2 separate regions of the Homo sapiens genome follow, and region 2 is linked to region 1. The links are contacts of gene promoters, found by promoter capture Hi-C in human tissues and cell types (Jung and others, 2019). All regions are on one chromosome and are shown on one strand. The core of a region is centred on a gene start or on the middle of the fragment in contact, and the rest is flanking DNA. Distances in the headings are between cores, read along the strand shown.

Region 1 (5,718 bases), core at 1-2,500:
TCAGTATTGAGGAAGAGTTCATTATCTGTATTGAAATCGGTTGTAGTAATACAAACAACAATAACATTTTAGAGCCCTAACTAAACATCAGTAGCAGTGAGAAAAAGAAAAATAGCTCAGAGCAGATTGTGTGAGTTACAGTGAAATATGCAAAATCAATCAAGCCCAGAGAGACAAGAGTATAGGACTTTAGTGGTCCCCTCCTCACCCAACCCATTCCTGGGAGCAACTGGTTAAAGGCATTTTGTTCCTGACCAGCTGCCTTACCCATTATCTTCAAGTTCCTGGAATTTGTGATACAAAGAACAATGTACAGACAATCAATAGTTTATGTTATTTTAATATAAATTCTTGGTAAACAACTTAGGAAGTGCTTCTTATTCTCCTTTAAAAACCCACTTTCGACTTCTGCTCATCAGAATGTATACTCAGGGCACCTTCACTCCCAGGATGCAGCCCTCAAACTTGGCTCGAATGAACTCTCTTTTTATATTGATTTTGCCTCAGTTTCTTCATTTAGGTCACAACTGTGCTAAGCACTTTACACAAGTTACCTCATTTGGATCCTCACAACAACTCTATGAGTCGGTACTATTATTTTCCCCATTTTACAGATTAGCAAACTAAGGCACAAAGAGAGTAAGCAACCTGCACGATGTCCCACAGCTGTTTAATAAGGAGCAGCGGATGGGGCAGCAGAACCATCATGCTGAGTAAACCAGGATGACTGCCCAATGGCCTCCCCTCGCTTTTAAGGGGTCAGTGATGAACCGGAAAGCTCCACACGTCGGTCATCTGCAACTCCACGGAGCTCACGAGCTGGGATTCCCGGAGGCTCTTCCTAAAAGGAAAGCCTCTTCTTTCAGCTGGGGCAGGTGTGAACGTGATGCCAAGCACGGCCCCTTTTCCCGCTCCCTGTAAAGGGAGTCTTCGAGGAAATCCCTCTCGACCCACACATCCCTGAAGCAAAGCCCGCAGCTGGAAAGAGACACTGGCGGTGCCAGCTTCCGCGTGGATGAAGGAGAGGAGAGAGGGGCAAGCAGCGGAGGCAGCGCGGGATACGGAAGGTGGAAGCGGGGCGGTACCTTTCGGAGAAAGCTGGCGACCACCTGCTCGAAGGGGTACTTGTACACCTGGTGCACATCCACCGAGACCCCCATCCCCGCGCGCCGCGGGCCCCGCGCACCGGCCACGCCTCCGCGAGCTCAGAGCTGCCCAGGGCTCCGCAGAGGCCCGGAGGCGCCCACACTCGGACAGCCACATGGGCGTGGCCTTTTTCCTCCGCTTTTCAAACTTTCGAAACTTTATTGGCCACTCGGAGAAACGCGCAGTCGGCCACGCCCACGCCCCTACTGCCAGAGTCCGGGGCCTGGGGTTACAGAGCGCGGGAGGCGCTGGAGCGCTCCCAGAGCACCCGGGGCCCCGCGGTCTCCACGCTGGCGGCGCCAGAGCGGCCCTGGTGCCCTCCCGCGGCCGCGCCTGCCGAGAAAAGCTTCTCTGCCTGGGAGCCATCACGCCCCGCCCCAGGAAACCTGGACCTTGGGCTTATGCGTTTATGGTATCACCGCCTGGAGTCACAGAATAAGCCGTGGTTGGCAGCACGGGAAAAAAGTATTAATAAGGAAGGCCTGGTGTGACAAAGGCCAGCATTACTCATGCCACCAGGCAGCTGCCTCTGAGGCTTGGGTTTGGGCCTCGTGTAAGGTAAAGATTGCCTCGGGAATAAGAACCGCGTTTTAGTGCACCAAAACCTGCAGGTAAGTTCCTTTGCTCGCTAAGGTTAAACACCACGGAGCAAGGAACTAGAGGATACAAAAGAGTTGCGAGTATTATTATTTACTGCAACCAACAGATGTTAGGAGAACCAGCACGTTAATCCGTGTATTCAGCACGGTTCTGAGGCCTCCTATGCCCCAGCGCTGTAGTGGGCACTGCGGATTCCGCAGGGAGGAAACACCAGCTCTGCTGATGAGCCGGCTGATTTCACACCCAATCAACAAGCTGGGAAAATAAAAACAATAATCGGTTAAAGTGACACGGGCGCGGACATGATTTTAGTGAGGGTGATTATGGAGGGTCTCTGAGGTGATGACTTTTACGATTTTGCCATCTCGCTCGCCCCTGCCATACGCAGTCACACTGGTCTGGCAAAACCCTAGCCTTGTGTAAATCTAGGTCTCCTCTGACTGTCTCTACCCAAGCCACCAGAAGGGGCTGAAGGAAAATACACACCCACTGTGCATCTTTTAAGTTCATAACCACTAACCCTATGGCGCCTTTTAATGGTGCCAGACAAATACACTATGAAAGTACTGTATTTCTGGCTGGGTGCGGTGACTCACGCCTGTAATCCCAGCACTTTGGGAGGCCAAGGTGGGCGGATCGCCTGAGGTCCGGAGTTCCAGACCAGCCTGGCCAACATGGTGAAACCCTGTCCCTACTAAAAATACAAAAATTAGCCAGGCGTGATGGCGGGCGCCTGTAGTCCCAGCTACTCCGGAGGCTGAGGCAGGAGAATCGCTTGAACCCGGGAGACGGAGGTTGCAGTGAGCAGAGCTCGCCCATTGCACTCCAGCCTAGGCGACAAGAGCAAGACTCCATCTCAAAAAAAAAAAAAAAAGAGAGTACTGAATTTCTCTAATCCACTTACTCTCCCGCATTCCTCCACACCTCTGACACCTTTGTTCCCAGCCTTATACTCCAGTCATTACCTTACTTCCATTTTCACTTAGTCAATAGGTCACATCGCTCTGCCACCTCTCTACCCACCAGACCAAATGCCTTGCCTTCACTCTTGTTCCTGTGGGTGAACTGTCAGCACTTTGTTTTAGCACCAGTGTCTCCATTTGTCCACTGAATCCTGAGGTGAACTGAAAAATGTTTAACAAATAGCTGTCCTTTAAAGTATAAATCAAGCAAGGCCCTGATTTCCAAAGGTTGCTGATTCCTGTGGTGTAAATACTCCTACCATGTTTAAAGATGCCAACTCGATGTCACTAAACACAAGTTGGGGATTTAGCAACATGGAGTTGAGTGAGGAGTGGGAGTTGGGGAGGGAAGCACAGAAGCACACCATCACATAGTATTTCCACCACCCACATACGACAGCCATAAAGAACCAAAAACATAAATAATGGAAAATGTAGCAGGAAGGGATGAGTTTTCAATGTTTATTACTCTTTGGCCAGGCTCCTATGGTTCATGCCTGTAACCTCAGCACTTTGGGAGGCCAAGGCAGAAGGATCACTTGAGGCCAAGAGTTTGAGGCCAGTGTAGGCAACATAGTGAAACCCCATCTCTACAAAAAATAAAATAAAAAATTAGCCAGGTGTGGCAGTGCACACCTGTAGTCCTAGCTACTTGAGAGGCTAAGGCCAGAGGCTCTATTAAATCCGGAAGTTCAAGGCTGTAGTGAACTATGATCGTGCCATGCACTCCAGCCTGGGCCACAGAGTGAGACCCATCTCAAATAAATAAATATTTATTAATTTTTATATGTGATTGTAAATTTATATACTTTAATAATAGCTGTGTTGAATGGCCAGCTCTAGTACATCACTAAAAGTTCCTGTCCTCTTTCTTGTTCAAGGCCATCTCTCTAGCAATATCCCCCTTCCTTTCTGTATCATCAGCTTTTGTCTCTACTGGGCCATTCCAGCCAGCACAACAAGTACACTGTAATTTCTTCCATCTAAAAACAAAAACAGAAACAATACAAAAAAAACAACTCTTAACCCCCTATCTTCCTCCAGCTGTATTCCGAGTCTCTGGTCCACTGATGCTCCTCAAAAGAGCTGCCTGTAATCTCTTGAGCCCATTCCAATCAGTATTTGCCCCCACCACTTCACCGAAACGACTGTTGTCAAGGTCACCAATGACCAAATTGCTAAATCCAATAATTAATTCTTAATCCCCACCTTACTAAGCCTGTAAGCAGCATTTCCTTGAAATACAGAGGGAGGAGTGGAGAGGAGAATGAGATGCAAATGCTCTTACATGTGTTGGATGCATGTTTAAAAGCCACTCCACTATATCACCAATCCCTCCTTACAGGAAAACAAAAAGCAGTCTTCCAGGGAGACTACACAGGTCCACAAAGGAGAGATCAATTACCTGCAGAGTTTATGGTATTTTGTATCTGCCTCTTTTACCAGAGTAGCTGGAGACCAGATGTGACATACAAACCCCCTGCTAGCGTAGGTCCTGGGCCCTGTATCCTCAATCCACTCTGACCATCAGTTTCTCCCAGAGTGTATCTTTAAGCAGGACTTAATCTCCGGATTAAGTAACCATGAAAGGCCAATGGTGTGTCCTGAAAGATTAAAGGCCCCACCACCTGCAACCTCTACTTGGGGCTGGTTGGCTGAGTGACTTGTGTAAGAACAAATGTGACCTGCCCATTCCAAGGACGTTGGGGCTTTCTGAAACGTGTGCCAGACTTGACAACATGAGCCTATTATCTTGTAGCTCTGAATCACAGCCAGTTTGCACAACAGTAATCTTACTTGCTGGGTCCTCTGAGGGAGCGAGAAGAAACTGTGAAACAAATTTCCATCGCTTTGAAATTGGTTGGCTTAACTGGGCAGGGACTTGAGGGTGGAAATTTGCTGGCAAACCTTAGAAGTTCATGACCTTATTTGGTCTTTAAGATACCAAATATCTTACTAAAGAACTTTCATAAGATATCAAATACCTTTTGTATCTTCACAGGGAGGCACAATAGTTTAAACATGGTAGACATCCAATACATTTAGGTTGAATGAATGAATGAATGAATGATTGTAAATGCTGCAAGATTTAAGTGACACAGAACTCCAGCCCTGACCCTGTCTCTCTGCTTTTCTCACCTTCTTCATGTTGGTTCAATTCCCTCTTCTGACCATCCTGACCATCTCTCTATCACTGATTTTTTGTATCCAGTCTTATAATTATCTGTATATATAAATCACTGTTACTGTGACATTCTCAAGACTGGAGGAACTGCATATATTATTCACTCCTCTCTATCCAGTGCCTAGTAAAATGCTTGGCACCTAGTATATGTTGAATAAACTCACGAATGTACTTAATATAAAATATGACCTTGAACAAAATCCTTCCTGCCCCTGCAGCTCAGTTTTTCCGTCAACAAAAACTGAAATGCAGGGGCAGAAACTGAGTGGGCCAAGACTGTCTCTAAAATCCAGCAACCTGACATTTGAGATGTGAGCTAGAGACACAAGCCAAGGCAGGGAACAGGGATATAGTTATTGAAACCAGGGTACAGAATGAGAATTTGCAAGGAAAACAAAGCAAAGTATCAGAATAGATTCAAATATGTAAAATATCATGTATGATAAGTAAGCGTGGGTACTAAGGAGACAAAAACTGGAGAAGAAGGATGAGAAGTGATGGCAGGGCAGGGGAGAGAGGAGCAGTGTTAAAATTTTTTAAAAGAGCTAAGGAAGACCTCTCTGAGAAAATGACATTAAAGTAGAAAAGTTGCAAGAAGAGGAGGGCAAGTCATGCTCGTATTTGGAGGAGGATCATTCCACGTAGAAGGAATGGCAGGTTCCAAGACCTGAAACAGGCATTCTCCTGATACATTTCAGAGCTACAAGGAGGCCAGTATGGCTGTTGCAGAGTTCCTGAGATATAAGGTCAGAAAACATGAATCTAGGTCACATAGGGTCCTCCAGGCCATGGTAAAGATGTTGGCTTTATCTGTATGAGATGGGA
Region 2 (6,098 bases), core at 3,012-5,511, 190 kb after region 1:
TTTTTTCTTTTTTCTTTTTTCTTTTTTTAGACAGAGTCTCACTCTGCCACCCAGGCTGGAGTGTAGTGGCATGATCTTGGCTCACTGCGACCTCCGCCTCCCAGGTTCAAGTGGTCCTCCCACCTCAGCCATCCAAGAAGGTGGGATTAAAGGCATGCACCACCACACCTGCCTAATTTTTGTATTGTTAGTAGAAACAGGGTTTCACCATGTTGGCCAGGCTGGTCTCAAACTCCTGGACTCAAGTAATCCACCCGCCTCGGCCTCCCAAAGTACTGGGATTACAGGTGTGAGCCACTGAGGCTGGCCTCCCCCATACTTTCTGTAAGCTGATAGAACTAGAGGCTTGAAAGCTTCGGGCTCAATTTTTTGTCAAGAATACTTCATAGGCAGTACTAAGTACTTGTTTTTTAGTTTGGTTTGAGTTTTTTTAAGTGTACAATTCAATGGCTTTTAATATATTTACACAGTTGAGCATTCATCACCATAGTCAATTTTAAACATTTCCTTTACTCCAAAAAGAAATCCCACACCTCTTAGCCATCACCTCCCAAACTACCATTTCCTTTAACCCCAGCCCTAGGAAACCATTAAGTTACTTTCTGTCTTTATAGATTTGCCTATTCTGGATGTTTTCTATAAGTGGAAGCACACAGTATTCGAATATTTGGATCTTTGTGGCTGGTTTCTTTCGCTGAATATGTTTTTAGGTTTACTCATGTTGCGGTATGTATTAGTACTCATTCCTTTTTATGGCAAATAACATTCTATTGTATGAATATACCACATTTTGTTTATCCACTCATCAATGAATGAGCGTTTGGGTTGTTTTTACTTTTTGGCTATTTTGAATAATGCTGCTATGGAACATTTGTAGACATATGCTTTCATCTGATTATATACCTAGAAGTGGAACTGTTAGATCATATAGTAACTCTGTGTTTAAGGAACTGCCAATGATTTTCAAAAGTGATTGCACCATTGTACATTCCCAGGCTTGGTGTATGCAGGTTGCAATTTCCCCACATCTTCGCCAACACTTGTTTTATTATCAATCTTTTTTATTGCAGCCATCCAATTGGGTGTGAATGTTATCCTATTGTGGTTTTGATTTGCATTTCCCTCATGGCTAATAAGAGCATCTGTTCATGCGTTTATAGTGCATGTGTTCTTTGGAGAACTGTTTTTTTATATCCTTTGCCCATTTTATCATCGGGTTTCCTTATTATTATTGAGTTGTAAGAGTTCTTTACATATTCTAGATTCAAGTCCCGTATCAGTTATATGACTTGCAATTTTTTCTTTCATTCTGCGTGTTGCCTTTTCACTTTCTAGGTGTGTCCTTTGAAGCACAAAAGCTTTTCATCACATCTACTCTTTCCTTTGTTGCTTGTGCTTTTGTTGTCATATCTAAAAACCAGTGTCTAATTCAAATTCATAAGTATTTATCACTGCATTTTTTTCTAAGAGCTTACAGTTTTTACTCTAATGTTTAGATTTTATGATCCAGCTGGAGTTAATTTCTATGTATGTTGTGAGATAGGGATCCAGATGCATTCTTCTACCTGTAGATATGAAGTTGTTCCAGCATCATTTACTGAAAAAGACTATTTTTTCCCATTTTGTTATATTTACACTCATGTTAAAAATTAAGTACTTTTTATAGCAACACATCAGGAAGCACATAATGCCTAACTGCCTCCCTTTTTGTATTAAAATTGATTCTATTCAAGTGTCAGCCTGCTCCATCCATTAAATGGGTCCCCATTAGCCTTTTACCGGGTGGTTTGAACATTATTTCATTAGGGGTTGCAAAATGATGGTGTTCCAAATCTGTCACTCCTGAATTTTTTTATGCCACAATTCTTCCATAATATTGAGCTATTTGTAAGACACAGCACTGTGAGCTTTATCTCACTATTGATCTCCACACCTACACATCATAATCCCTCAGCATATATTGGGGAGTCCAAAGTTCATATTCTTAACCTCTCTCTCTGTCTCTCTCATTTGTTCCTGGGCATTCCCCTAGCTCAAAGACAAGATTCATTTCTCACCACCTTCCCGCATGGCATGTTTGCCATCACTGAACAGCCACCCCTTTTTCCACTGGCCACTGCCAGCTGGGCTAATCTTACTGCCTGCCTGTGCAGTCGCCTTGTTTACATCCTTGCCACTGCCGTAGGCTGGCCCCCAGTCCAGGCCTCCTTGGCCCACATGTTCCCTCCCTTGCCTTCCTGAGGTCTGGTTCCCACACTTGAGCCAAGATCAGGAGAAAGAGGCCCAAGTTTGTTCAGCTTGGAGAAGAAAAGATTGATGTGGGGTTGAATGATGACTTTGTTTTTCCAAACTTGCATTTCTATACCAGTTTTATTTTCCTGTGTTCTGAAGAGAAAAGGAACATAAATCAAAACATGAAGGATTTAAGGAAGTACAATGAGAAATCTCTCCTACCGCATAGACTGCTGGAAACTAAATACTGCCAATGCTGAAGTGGAATCTATGGATTCTGTTGTTGTTTTTATTGTGTTTGGTTTGGTTTGTATTTATTCTACAGAGGAAGGTAGCTTAGTACAAACAAAAAGGTTTTGAGTCAGGCAAAGCTTCTTGTCATGGCTTTGCCATCTGGTAACTAAATGACATTGAAATTAAGTATCTAACCCCAATAAGCCTCAGTGTACTCATCTGCAAACTGGGATAACTCCTTCCATGCAGGGTCTTGGCAATGGTAGCAATAACTCAAGCTGCAGCCATTGCTATTACCTTCCCCCTCTTTCCTCCAAGGGGAGCTTTTAGAATCTGTCATTTGTGTGACTGGGGAGAACCCTGAATTAACACAGGGAATGGGCCAAACGTTTTAAAATCTAAATGATCATTCCAATCTGAATGTTTTAAGGTATAGTTTTTCACAACTACTAACAGATATGGAGGAGGGGGTGATCTTGCCTCTTATATGTAAAACACTGGCAGGAAAAGGTACTTCCTTAACAGACTCAAGGTCTTCCCCCAAAAATTAAATAAACACATGAATTATAATTTAAAATATAACTAATAGTCCCTACAATATATAACATCTTTGAGCCACATAGTCCCAGGTGGCAGTAACCTTTATTTGCACAAGAAAGGTGATAGATACATCACGAGCGAGGCCTCAAAGAATGTGATCCTAGCACTCCCACAGTTAACTGTATAGCCCTGGACAAAGGGTTTTGCCTGTCTGGGTCCCAGTTTTCTCATTGGAATGACAAAAGTGGCTTGGCAGAGTATTATGTGCGTTAATTGGCTAACAGCACACTCTGAAGATAGGTAACACAGGGAAAGAGCTGTTTCTATTATTTAATGAATCATGGTTATTGTTGTGATTCTTCCTGTCTTCTGCGGGAGCACACATTTACACAACAGACCTGTTTTCTTTCTGTCTGGTGCAAAGTTTTGTCAGGCCCCGCAGGTATTGGGTAGAGCTATTCTCTGAGGCAAAGAGCTTCTCAGCACAGGCAGTATAGTAAGGAAATAAAAATATGGGCTTTGGGGTCAGCTAGATCTAGGACGGAACTCACACTGCTTCTTACCAAACAGTATAACCTTGGGCAAGATACTTTACTCCGTCTGAGCCTCAGTTTTTATATCTGTAAAATGGGACTAATGATGGTAATTTTCATAAGATGGCTGCGAGGATAAAACAAGGCAATGCTTATACATGAGATAATGGCCAGGGTTTAGGAGTGGTAAATGGCTCAATAAATGTTCACTCTGTTGTTATTATTATCATTGGGTCAAGCCAGGAAGCTAAAACCATCTCCCATCCCCACTGCCCCAGGGCCAGCCTATACAAACAGGCCCTACTGAGAATGAGCTTGATCAGCCACATGCTTCAGAGATGATCTGTTGGAGCCTGCTTTGAAGTGCAAAGGCTTCCAAAAGCCCCTTTGCTTTCTTGATAAGCAGTGACAATTCCAGAATTAGGGAAGGAGTGTGACTCTTGGGACAATTGCACTTGCTTAGTTCATACTGTAATTCCGTGTGAACCCATGTGAGAGAAGCCAAAAATGAATGCAGGAAAAAAAAGACTTTGGATAAAAAAGTCAAAGATAGAGACTGAGGCAGAGCCAGTCATCTGTCCACCATTTCCTATACACACCTCGCAGTTTTTTCTGGGAATGCTGTCCTCACCTGGCAAGCGTCCAAAGCCCATTGTGAATCCTAGTTGCCAAAGCCCCTCACAGCCTGTCAGTGAACCAGTCAACAGAGTTGTCGAATGCCCACCAGGCACTGAGCTGGGCACAGGTGATACAGTGAACAAGACAGACATGGTTGCTACAGCCATGGAACCTCCAAGCTAGCAGGGAAGACAAAAACTAAACAAATTATTAACATACTTGATTACAAGGTATTAAGCGTGCAAAGTGCTAGTGAGGTTCAATTATGGGAGATGAAGGGAGTATGTAATGGAGGGTCCACCTAGTCTAGAAAGTCAGAGAAGCCTGCCTGGAAGAAGTGATCTTCAGGTGAAAACCTGGAAGCTGATAGCAGTCAGCCAGGTGAAAAAAGGAAGCGAGCTGAGGTTCTGCACACACCTCTCCTTAGCGCTGCAGCCCAGTTGCCTTTCTACTGAGGTCACTCCAGAAAGCGCCAGTACTCCTGGGGCACAGTGACTTCTGCAGTACTTAGATCCTCAGCCCTGCCCAACCTCCCCGAGGTCCTCGGTCTGGTTTCTGGTGACTAAAGCAGGTTCGATAATTAACATTGCTTACTTCCTTGATTCAGCATTTCTCCAGCAAGAGGTTAAACTTTACATCATCGTTTTGCCCAATTAATCCTGGCAGGTGAGTCACTGAGACGACCCAACCCTGCCCGGGTGGAAAAGGGAGCGGCCTAGCCTGTACCTCAGACATTTTAATGTAGACACTATAGCTCTGGGAGCTGGGAGCAGGGGACATTGATATCCAAGGCCAATGAGGCCTGCAACACACACACACACACACACACACACACACACACACACACACACACAGAGATAATTCAACAAGAAAGGAAGACAAGAGAAGCAAAATAAAACAGAAGGGCAAAAGAAAGGGAAAAGCAATGTAACAGGGTAGCATTCTGGGAACAAAGAGGGTAGTATAGACATGTGGGCACAGACAGACCTTGATGGTGCAGTGGCCTCAGCCAAGTGGCTCAACCTTGCAAGACCTCAGTTTCACCATCTCAAATGGGAAAATTAATAGCGTCTTCCACACAGACCTGTTAGGAGATGAATGAGATACTCGCATACAGAAGGCTTTCTCAGCCTCAGCACTATTGGCATTTTGAGCAAGATCATTGTTGCGGCGGCCGCCCTGGGCATTGTGGGGTTTTTAGCGGCATCCCCGGCCCCTACCCACTGATGCCTGTAGCACCCACCACCACCACCCACCCACCTGTGGCAACAACAGACATTACCAAATGTTCCGCAGGGTCAAAGTTGCCTCCCGCTGAGAACAGCTGATGTGCAGAATGTAGCACAGGGTCTGGCTTGTAGTAAATGCAGAATAAAGGGCAGTTAAGTCAAGGGCTGTGTGAAAAAGATGCCCTTTCTGAATAGCCCCAGCAGACCACTCTTCTCAAACACATGGGAGAATAGAAGGGCTTTGGGGAAACCTGACACTTCCCACAGGTAGGATGGGGAGACTTGCCTGTGCCCTGTCCCTGGAAATGCGCCAAAACACGAACGCGCTCCTAGCTGGAGAAGCTGAAAGGACCTGTGCGTTGAGTGGATTGTTGGAAAAACATATTGTGCAGAGAAACATACATATGTAGTGAAAAGAAAAACAAATTGTGCAGAGAAACATACCCCCACAACAATAAACAAAGGCACAATAAATACATAATTCAGGCCCACTTTCCATTCCCACTCAGCTCCAAGAAAAAAAGGAACTCATTTTGTGACAGACCCAGTGCCACAGTCTTACATCCTCTGTGAGTATTGTTAATCGTTGTTACTTCTTTCCATTTTAGATGGAGGAACTGAGACTCAGAGAGGCTAAGTATCTAGTTCAGTTAGCAAGTGCATTTCAGAGTTTTTGTCAGAACCCAGGTCTGGCTGTCTTCCGGGCCCATGC

Evidence for each region. Contacts are between HindIII fragments. The study calls those that stand out against the background at their distance.
Region 2: a fragment that was not itself captured here is called in contact with the fragment with the promoter of PRELID2 in region 1 in 1 of the 25 tissues and cell types used here (heart left ventricle).

What each region holds. Positions count from the first base shown.
Region 1 is chr5:145,834,092-145,839,809 of GRCh38, forward strand. It overlaps PRELID2 (PRELI domain containing 2), which reads right to left and starts at 1,251. Exons shown (of 7, transcript NM_205846.3): 1 at 1,086-1,251. The coding sequence starts at 1,160. RefSeq lists a silencer at 1,443-1,562. The HindIII fragment of the contact is 8,273 bases long and covers 1-5,718 here.
Region 2 is chr5:146,023,200-146,029,297 of GRCh38, forward strand. The region is part of intron 5 of SH3RF2 (SH3 domain containing ring finger 2); the gene reads left to right. The region is part of intron 1 of LOC107986458 (a long non-coding RNA gene); the gene reads right to left. Among named protein-coding and RNA genes, the nearest start is that of PLAC8L1, 79 kb to the right of the region's middle. RefSeq lists enhancers at 2,843-3,638, 3,639-4,432, 4,454-5,653. The HindIII fragment of the contact is 4,562 bases long and covers 1,981-6,098 here.